2 separate regions of the Homo sapiens genome follow, and region 2 is linked to region 1. The links are contacts of gene promoters, found by promoter capture Hi-C in human tissues and cell types (Jung and others, 2019). All regions are on one chromosome and are shown on one strand. The core of a region is centred on a gene start or on the middle of the fragment in contact, and the rest is flanking DNA. Distances in the headings are between cores, read along the strand shown.

Region 1 (5,356 bases), core at 1,515-4,014:
AACTCTTATCTATCCAAATTATCTTCTCTCTTAATTCCTCCCTTGATAAGTGGCCACATCTCCACCCTCTTCACCCCAGTAAACAGAATAAAAGGTAAAATGGTGAGAGACAAGGGTTGTAGCTGCTTTTGGAAAATGCAAAAAGCCATGGGAAGAATCAGGGGGTCTCTGACTCTGCGGACAGAAAGGCTCTGTGTGGCTGATATTTACAACACCGAGTCTCGAAATGCCTCCACTGGTCTCCTGTTCACCTTGCTGCCTTTCTCCTACCAACCTGCTTGAACTGTCTGCTACACATACACACATACACATTTGAGAGAGGCACTCACTAAAAATCATTTCAAGGCTCATTTCATGAAAGGCTGAAGACCAATTCTTGAGTCCTTCTCAGAGATCCACAGAGTGGTTTTAGAACTCGGTTCAAGCAACTTTGAAACACCCACCCATCTGTTCACTGCAAACTGCTCTCCTTTTGCTTTCTGGGTCTCGCCGTCTAACGTAAGGAGGTTTGGAGAAGTGGATTGGAAGTCTAGGTAAGCAAGCTTTGCAAACTCAAAATCAACTGCCTGAGTTAAATAAAACTGTTTTTCCAACCAGAAATTCCAATTCCACATTTTCTTCTGGGTCGCCTCTTAAGTGGCTCCTGAAGGAGTGAGCAGTGAGCCAGGGAAAGAGAAAAGAAATCCAGTATTATTTCAAGCCGTACAGCCCTTCCATCAGCAAAAGAGAAACATCCACCCTTCTTTCCCGTCCTCTTCTTGGAGTCTCTCTTCTGGTTTCCCTGTCCCCCAATCAGAACACCCTCTGAACCCCCAGTTCTGTGGAGCAGGCCAGGCTGTCCCGGATTGGGAGACCAGCCAGGGTGAGGCGAACAAGACCAACTTCTCTCAGGGAAAAGGAGGAGTAGGAACGGGCCGGGCGCTCCGTTTGGACTCAGTTGGTCTCCTTCTAATATGACGGGGAGGATCTCTGCTGGGCCGGGGGCAGTCCCTCCGGGGACTTCAGGAGGACAGAACTGACGAGTGTCTCAAGATCCTCCTTGCCAGATTCAGTTCCAGCCATTCCAGCCAGGCGCAAGGCTGGCAGGAAGGGAGCGGGGCCCCAGCGCCTTCCCGCGCAGGCCTCCAGGAAATGAACTTTTCAGAGCAGAACTGGGCTCAGGCCAGAGGTCATCAGGGGAGATGGGAGAAGACAAGGGCCTGGGGGCTTTTGGCTCCGTAGACTTAGCCGCTCTCATCGTTCCCCCCTTCCTCGATCATCTCCCATCTCACAGCCGAGCGCCCGGGCACCCAACCGAGGGGCTAGAATCGGGACAAAGCAGCAGGCAAGGCCTGGAAAGGCCAGCCGCGGGGAGAGGAGGCCAGGGGAGGGGCTCTGCTGCCGGCGCGCGGCCTTTCCCCGGGGCCTCTACTCTCCAGGGGTCCCCTCGAGCTGGGGGCCCTCGCTGGAAATAGAAAGCAAAGCGTGGAGACGAAGGGATGGGTGTGTGTATCTATATATCTGCAGCTCCCCACAAACGCGCGCACCCCGGGGAGCCAGCACAGAAAGCCGGCCTGGGTGTCGAGGGTGCCGGTGCCCGGGGTCAGATCCAGGGTGCCGGTGCCCGGGGTCAGATCCGGGGCGCCCTCCGCGGAGGGGCGCGCACCGCGGCCGCTGAGCTCCCCTGAGGACCTGCGTCCCGCCGGCGCCGTGCAGACAATGAACTCCTGGCGGAGGCTCCCTGCCCGGTGGGCCTCGGTGGAGGAGGCAGGAAGTGCAGGGGCCCGGGCCGGGAGAAGGCCTGGGCAGGGGCGGGAGGGGGCGCCAGGCGGCCGGGGCGAGGGCGCGGCGCCCGGGGCGCTCGCCGACAGCGCCCGCCGCTCCCCGCGTCCTCGGGCGACCAGGCAGGGGCCAGAGAGAGCCAGCGAGGCCCGGGGCCAGCGAGGAGCGGTCGGCCTGCCGGGCGCCCGTCCTCGCCGCCTCTTCCTTCCTCCTGTCGCCCGCCCGCCGCCGCCGAGATTCGCAATCCCCGCCAAGTCGGGCCAGCACCCCTTGATTGGCCACACGGGCCCGGGCCCCGCACGGAGGGAGCGGCAAGGGCCCCTTAGCGGCGCCCCCAGGCCTGGGTCCCCCAAGGGCGACGGCGCCGAGTCCGGGCAGGGAGGGTGTCCGCGGCGTACCCCCTCCGCCGCCGCCGCCGCCGCCGCCGCCTCCGCCTCCTGCTCCCGGCTTCCTCCTCCCCCTCCTCCGCCTCCGCCTCCGCCTCCGCCTCCTCTGCCGCCTCCTCCTCCTCCTCTCGGCTCGCTCGCGCGGGTCCCCGGCAGCCAGCCCGCTCGCCGGTCCCTCCTCCCTCGCTCCCTCCCTCCTCGCTCGCTCGCTCGCGCCTCCGCCGGGCCTCGCTCGCTCACCTTTCACCGAGCGCGGCTTCGCCTGCTTCCGCCTGGACATGTCCGGGGCTCCGGGCGCTCCGTCGCCCTCCGCAGCCGGCTCCCCCCGCCGCCCCCCGCCGCTCCGGGCAGCCCTTCTCCCCCTTCTCCTCCGCCTGTCTCTTGGAAACTTTTTTTTTTGCAGCCCGGTTGGCGGCTGTGGGGAGCGGACCGCAGGTCCGGGGCGGCCTCCCTTGGGGGGGCAGCCCGGGCCGGCCGAGGCCGCTCGAAGGCGGGGGGAGGCCCGGGGGGCGCGCCGGGGCCCTGCCTGTTGCAATGCGGCAGTCCGGGGCTCCCGATCCAAGCGGCGGTCCCAGCGGCGCGGGGAGTCCGGAGGCCACTCGGCCGAGCCGAGTTATGCAAAAAAAAAAAAAAAAAAAAAAAAAAAAAAGCCGCCCCCCTCCTCCTCCCAACCCCCCGCCGGCCCCCGGCCCCTGCGGCCCCCTCCTTCCCTCCCCCACCCTACCGCCACCCTCACCCTCCTCCTCCTTCTCCTCCTCCTCCGCCCCTTGCCGGATTTTTGTGCAAAGTTTGCAGGCGTCCGGCCACGCAGCCCGGTGCGGAGCTCACAATGAACCCATCTGAGGAGGGGGAACGGGGCTGGAGTCGAGGGTATCTCAAGGGGGGAGGAGACCGGGAGGCGGTCGGGAGCGCGGAAGCTCAGTACCCCCCAGGAAAAAAAAAAAAAAGAAGCCTTCGAATTATCCCCTGCCGCACAAAAAAAAATAATAAATATTAATGGCTCAAAAATGCCCAAGCGCCTGGTTTGGAGATTATGATGGATGGGGGGCGGGGGTCCCTCAACTCAGCCTACTTGGAGGGGAGGCTCGAAACGGCCGCAGTGGCTCGGAAGCCGCGGCTCGGGGCCCCTGGCTCACGCCCCCTTCTCTGGCTCTCGGATCGGCCCGGCGCCGGCCCCCCGGAGGAGGAAGGGGCGCGCGGGGGCGCTCAGGCGGCGGCCGGCAGGCGCGCCCGTGCCCCGGGCATCGCTCAGCCCGTGCGCCGGGCCGCCGCTGCCTGCCCTCGGGCTGCGGTGCTCAGCGCGAGGCGCGCAGCCGATCCCCAGGCCGGTGCCAAGTCGCCGGCCCCGCTAGCTGCCTCCATGGGCCAGGGGCTCGGAGAGGGGGGAGGCGGCGGCCGCGGTGGCGGAAGAGGAGGACGAGCAGGCGGCGGCGGCGGCGGCCGGGCTCCCGTCCTCCTGGGCAGCGGCGGCGGCGGCTGCGCCCCGGCTCCTCCGCGCTCCAGCCGGCGCCGGCCCGCCCGCCAGCCTCCCTCGCGCTCCTGTCTTCTTTGTGGTCGCTGGCTCTCCTCCTCCCGATCCGGCTGCTGGGGCTGCACTGCAGAGACACATAATAAAGCCAGGCTTGGCTGGAAATGTAGCCGGGTCCCAGCAGGAGGATGTGAGGAGCGGAGTCCCGGCGGGGGAGCGCTCTGATCCCGTGGGGCGCCCCGCACTGCTCCGGCTCGGATCAGACGGAGAGAGGGCCAACAGCACCGAGCGATGGACAGCGCTGGAAATACAGCTCCGGCCGCCCGCAAAACCCGGACCGTGGTGGCGGCGGCGGCGGCGGCGGCAGGCACGGCGCGGGCGCGGGCACCGCACCAGCACGCGGGGCCGGGGCTCGGGCGCTGGCTGCACCGGGGGCAGGAGGAGGGAACACACTTAGGGCCCACGCGGCTGTCAAGCTCGCCAAGACGCATGAGCCTCACAAACTGTAAAAAGTGAAAGAATGGGGGAGCAAACGGAGTTGGGCTGCCCTAGTATTGCCACCTCGCGATGTATGCCTCACGCACATGAACTATCCAGGGACCTGGCTCTGCCAGGTTGGCTTTTGCCCACCGGTCGGTGTTCAAAGACCACCCCTGCCCCACATCCAACAAATTCTTCCACCACTGGGCTAACCCCGTGCGCCCCCTACACCCTTATTTGTAGAATTCTCGCGCCTGGTGTGCACTTCCTCTGTCCGACTGTAAAAGGAACACCTTACCCCTGAGACCTTGCAGGAGCACCCCCTCCCCGCGCAGTTGTCAGAAGAAATAAACCAGCTGCTACTTTCTGCGAGGTTTTACCCAGCCGCCAGGGGGCGCCGCGCGTCCCCCGCAGCTCCTGAACCGGCTGAGACTCTGGTCTCCGGGCAGGCCCGGGAAGGGTTCTGACTTGGGAAAAGTCTTCCCCAGACGGCTCCCCTAAACCGTTCCTCGGAGCCTCTCCCTCCCCAACTAGCTGCAGGCGGCCAGGTCTCGGGTGGGGAGCGGCCCCGACCTCGCCCCCCTCCCGGGTGAGTGGCGCCACCTTGGGCCGGCGCGCCCCGGAGCCAGGAGAACGGAGCGGGTGCACGGCGCGGCGCTGGGGGTTATCAATCTCTCGGATCGATAAGTTGCCACTTGGAGAGGGGAGGGCTACGTCCCCTCGGAGACGAGTTACCCAGGGCAACCTTTCACGGAAAAACCCGCTGCCCGCCGAGAACAGCGCCGGGGCCGGCCGGGCCGCGGCGCCCGCCCCACGCAGGGTGCCCGCGCCCCGCCGCTCCCCAGCCTGCCGGCCAGCCGGGCCCGGCCCCGCTCAGCTCTCTCCGCGGTCCCGCCGGGCCCTGCTCGCCAACCCCGTGCTGGGCTGATTGCCGAGGTAGATGCCACCCACGCACCCCCGCGGCTGGGGAGCGCGAGCTGGAGGATGCGGAGAGGCCTGAGGCAGGGGGGCCAGGCGCGCGCGCCCTAGGCAGTCTCAGAGGTAGAGTCGGGTGACGGGCTAAACGCGACGCCTAGCTGGACACCCTGACAGCGGCAGCGGGCGAGCGAGGCTCCCCAGAGGGGCGGAGGCCAGGACCGAGACGTCCCCTAACTAGACCTAAGCCTTGAGGGCCGCCCCTCCCCAGGTTAGCGCTACCATCCCCAGGCCACAGTCCTCCCCAGCTTGTGCGTCCAAGAGTGTCCAACATCTCGGCCTTCCC
Region 2 (4,992 bases), core at 1,113-3,612, 42 kb after region 1:
GCTGCTGGGCAAGATGTCAACAAAGCTCTGGAAGTGGACCCCTGAATTTGCCAAGGGGAGGAAATGGGGAAAGACAGTCCAGGCAGGGCAGGGAAGTGGGGGCAGAGCATGCCATTGCCCTGGTGGCCGCTGTGGTGGCTGGGGCATCCTGGGAGACATAGTAGGGTGCTTGAGCTGCTCCTGCTGAGGGATAGCTGAGCTGGCTGGGAGCTGCTCCGGGGAGTGCCGACTCCCCACCTCCCTGACCTGCCTCCTCCACAGGGACCAGAGAAAGTCAGGGGCTGGCAGGAAAAGCCACCAGATGGGCACCCCCACCATAGGGAGTGCTGCGGGGCTACGGCAGGGGCCCACAGTGTTGGTGACAATAGTGGAATTCCATCCCAACTCATTTCAGGCATGGAACCACCTCTCAGCATGTGAGGTGGGGAAGAAAGAGAGGAAAAGGGTCAACTTTTTATTTATTTATTTATTTTGAGACAGTCTCGCTCTGTCGCCCAGGCTGGAGTGCAGTGGTGGGATCTTGGCTCACTGCAACCTCCGCCTCCCGGGTTCAAGAGATTCTCATGCCTCAACCTCGCAAGTAGCTGGGATTACAGGCACCTGCCACAATGCCTGGCTAATATTTGTATTTTTAGTAGAGACGGAGTTTCACCATGTTGGCCACGCTGGTCTCATCTTAACAGGCAGGCTGCTCTGCCCGCTGCTCCCTCCATGGTTGAGTGTGAAATAGAAGCACAGCCCCTCCTCCCTCGGTTGGCCTCGGGGCCCTGGTTTCTCTCACAATGCAACCACCTTCCTGCACTGGGAACCACTCTAGTGTTTTTAGTGTATATTTTTCCTACCACTTGACCCCTGAACACAAACCAAAATGTCACCCAGTCCTTACCCATAGAAACTGGCCATGTCCCAGGAGTTTGAGACCAGCCTGGTCAACATAGTGAGACCCCATCTCTAAAAAATAAAAATTAACAATAAATAAACAACAATAAAAAATTAGCCGGCGTGGTGGCACACCCCTGGTAGTAGTCCTAGCTGCCTGAGAGGCTGAGGCGGAAGGATCACTTGAGCACAGGAGGTCAAAGTTGCAGTGAGCCATGATCACGCCACTCATTCCAGCCTGGGCCACAGAGTGAGACCATCTCTCAAAAAAAAAAAAGAAAAAAAAAGAAAGAAAGAAAAAAGAAACCGGCTATGTTACTGTTATGGGAGACACTGGGGTGGGGTTGTCTCACATGGCGCCTCCATAAAGGGAGTCGGTGTCTGCTTTGGGGCGCCTCCCCACGCTGCCTTGCCCTTCTGTGGCTCCGTCACACTTGCTGTCGCTGACTCGAGGATTGCTCATGAGTCCAGCTTCACGGGGATCAGCTACAAGTTGCTTGTGTTCTCTATGGAATCCCAGGGCCTGGCACTGTGAGACCCACAGTAAATATCCATCAAACAAAGGAAAGAGCACATGCCCAGTGCCCCGCCCTGAAGCACAAGCCTTACCGGCATTCTCATTCAGTCTCAGTCACCTGAGGAGACAGGCTTCTTACTTATTTTTTTAAAGCAAGGTTGCTCTTATTATCCCCATTTTATAGAAGAAGCAGTGGAGGCTTGGGCTACATAACTTGCTGCAGCAGACACAGTGGATGCCGCACCTATATGCCTCCATACAGCCCTCAGCCAATGGTGGCGAGGGCTGGCATATAAATGCCCTGGCTCCCCCATCCATCTGGGTGCAGCCAAGTGCTGACTCCCAGAGCTGCTCAGAAACAGACCTGCTGAGGGCCGGACGCGGTGGCTCACGCCTGTAATCCCAGCACTTTGGGAGGCCAAGGCGGGCAGATCACGAGATCAGGAGATCGAGACCATTCTGGCTAACACGGTGAAACCCCATCTCCACTAAAAGTGCAAAAAATTAGCCGGGCGTGGTGGCAGTCACCTGTAGTCCCAGCTACTTGGGAGGCTGAGGCAGGAGAATGGCGTGAACCCAGGAGGCAGAGCTAGCAGTGAGCCCAGATCGCGCCACTGCACTCCAGCCTGGGCGACAGAGGGAGACTCCGTATCAAAAAAAAAAAAGAAAAAAAAGAAACAGACCTGCTGAGAAACAGACCCTTTACTGGTTCCTTCCTGCCCTGCTCTTTCCTGTCTCCCGTGTGGTGCTCTCTGAGATCCCCTCTAAACACACTTGGATTCGTGTCCTTGTCTCTGAGATGGCTTCTGATGGAGCAGCTCCCAGGGTCAGACTGTAGATCTAAACACAGGAGTACTCCCTCAGCGCCCACTCTTCGCCCCATGCCACCCTGAGTTCACTCAGTGACCCTCAGATTTCTCCAGCCAGAGCTTCCAGGGCTGGCTGACTTTTCCATACTCCCTGGGAGCACCATCCAGACTTGTGAATGAGGAAGCCTGGAGTTAGAATTTTAAGCAACTATAAGGGACTCTTTCTGCATCCTATTCCAGAAAGACAGTTATTCCATTCCTATTTTTCCAAAACCTTTGGAAGAGCAAAAGCTTGGCAGTCCCCTCTACTTTTTCCAGCTATTTCTGCCTTTCACCAGACCTAACTTGAGATTTCCTCTTTAGAACTCACAACCAGGTATCTTCTGCCCACTGATGATCAGAGATGGGACCATCCTGGTGCCTGTAGAGCCTGAAATGAGCTGGTCCCCAAGTGAATCCTGCAGAGAGGAATATTACCAGAAAGAAACGTGAGCTGGGCAGCAAGCTTCCGTTTGCCCTCTGCACTAGCCCCAGCTAAGTACTCCCTTTTCATTCCGAGGGCAGAGGTGAAATCAGCCTCCCATGCCTCCTTCACTGGGCTTTGCCCCGGGGGTGGGCTGGTCATGGTGCCCAGTGACCAGCTGCCTGAACTGCCCTGGCCTTCTCAGGCCAGAGTTGAACTCAGGTCCCTTCTTGCTCCACAAAAGCAGAATCTTTGTGTGTGTGTGTGTGTGTGTGTGCATTTGTAGAGACAGGGTCTCACTCTGAGGCAGGCTGAAATGCAGTGATTTGATCATAGCTCACTGTAACCTTGAACTCCTGTGCTAAAGCGATCCTCCTGCCTCAGACTCCCTCACCTGCTGGGATTATAGGTGTAAGCCATCATGCCCAGCCCCATGTACACATTTTAAAATAATAAACTGAAACCCTCTTCTACCCAAGCAGCAGCCACAGATGGTCAATTAAAACGCAGGGTAAGATCAGGCACAGTGGCTTACGCCTATCATCCTAGCAGTTTGGGAAGCTGAGGTGGGAGGATCACTTAAGGCTAGGAGTTCGAGACCAGCCTGGGCAACATAGCAAGACTCCATCTCTATGAAAAAATTAAAAATTAACTGGACATGGTGGTGGCACCTGTAATCCCAGCTACCCAGGAGGCTGAGGCAGAATGATTGCTCGAGCCCAGGAATTCGAGGCTACAGTGAGCTATGATTGTGCCACTGAACTCCAGCCTTGGCAACAGAGCAAGACTCTGTCTCTAAAACAAAAACAAAAAACCCAGGGTAACCCCTATAGTTGCAAATGCCTCCGTAGGCCACCCTTTTTTTACCTTGAAGACTGAAGTGGAAGCCAGCACCATGTCTCACCCACCTAAGAGGCCTCAGGGCTCTTAAGGAGTCCCTCTGATCCGTCTCTGCACGCCCTTACTGGTCCCTCCAACCTGCTCCCTTCATGGCCTCTAGGACAGTGTCCTCCAAATGCAGAGCTGATCACATCAATCCTGGCTAAAACTTTCCAGTGGCTTCCCTGACTATCAGAGTAAAATCCATCACACGCCCACTGCCAGCCCAGCCCAGCCCACGATGACGGGCCCCTGCTGATGACACCTTTCAGATGCCCCTGACTGCCATGCCCGGCACTCAGGCCATCTCAATGTTCCTGGAATCTGCCTTGGGTCCTTTGCCCTTTTAGGACTTCAGTGCATCCAGCGAGCCTCAGAGGAAATGTCCCCTCCTCACAGAGGCCATTCCTGATGGCCTGGTTTAATATTCTCCTATCCCTCACTTTCTGTCACATCGTTCTGATTCCTGCCAACACAGCCTCTATCACAATTAGAAGTCACTGCGTTTGTTTCTGATCTCTCTGTTCATTGCTGTCAGCTCCTTGAGATCAGGGCCTCTGGCCATCTTGCTCAGCGCTGTAGCTTCTGCACCTGGCACGGAATGGGTGCCCAGTAGATATATGCTGAATGAATGAATGAGTAAATTCCACTGGGGGCAACCAGCAAGAGAAGGTGAATGAAATAGACAAGAGGAGCTGCTTCTTGCACCTGTGTCCCCAGGGAGCTTGGGCTCCCTCCTTCCGTTGGGAATCCTCAGAAGCAAACATGTGGCTAGGAGAACCCTGTAAGCTGCTGCTTACAGATCCTTGTGCCATCGTTAACCACTTGAATATTGCATTTTTTTTTTTTATCAAGGCCTCTCTTGGCCCCCAGGGAGGCCTACCCTCTGGAACCTCTGGGATGCAGCTCCAGTCTCCAAGTGGTGGCCCTGGCAACGGGCCCTGGGAGCACTGGGTCCTTGGGGCTTTCTCCAGCTCCTCCTGGTCCCCTGGGTCTTTGGTGTCCTCTGCTCAGCAACCTGAGCTGAGCCCCAGCCCGAGAGGGGACAGGTCCCTGAGGGAAGGGACTGGAAAGTGAGACTCTGGGGTCAGGGCCCTCCTAGGAAGCAACTAGGAAGGAGGGGAGGTTTGCTTGGGAGTTGTCCAGCTCCAATCACCCAGAGGCCAGTCCCCAGGGCCCCGCACCCACGGGGGCTGAGCCCAGGGAGGCAGCAGGCTGTGTTGTCAAAGGAAGCCTCAGGCCACTGGGAAGTTGCTGGGAAAAGTTTGCAGCGCTCTCCCCCAGGTGCCCTCTGGGCCCCTGGGCCCCTGCTTCTCCAAGGACAGAAACATGGGTTCCCTGAGGCCTCATGCCTGGCTGCCCTCACTCTTTCCGAGGAGGGTTTCAAGAGCCAAGAGCTCAAAGAGAATTAGACCCTGGGCCTGAGAGATCCCAGATCTCACGGG

Evidence for each region. The method cuts DNA at HindIII sites, captures the fragments that hold promoters and counts their contacts. A contact is called where the count stands out against the background at its distance.
Region 2: a fragment that was not itself captured here is called in contact with the fragment with the promoter of ZNF423 in region 1 in 1 of the 25 tissues and cell types used here (lymphoblastoid cells).

Annotation. Positions count from the first base shown.
Region 1 is chr16:49,853,348-49,858,703 of GRCh38, forward strand. ZNF423 (zinc finger protein 423) reads right to left here and starts at 2,765. Exons shown (of 8, transcript NM_001379286.1): 1 at 2,388-2,765. The coding sequence starts at 2,427. RefSeq lists a silencer at 2,009-2,268. The HindIII fragment of the contact is 13,140 bases long and covers 1-5,356 here.
Region 2 is chr16:49,895,365-49,900,356 of GRCh38, forward strand. No RefSeq gene overlaps it. Among named protein-coding and RNA genes, the nearest start is that of ZNF423, 42 kb to the left of the region's middle. The HindIII fragment of the contact is 4,838 bases long and covers 1-4,781 here.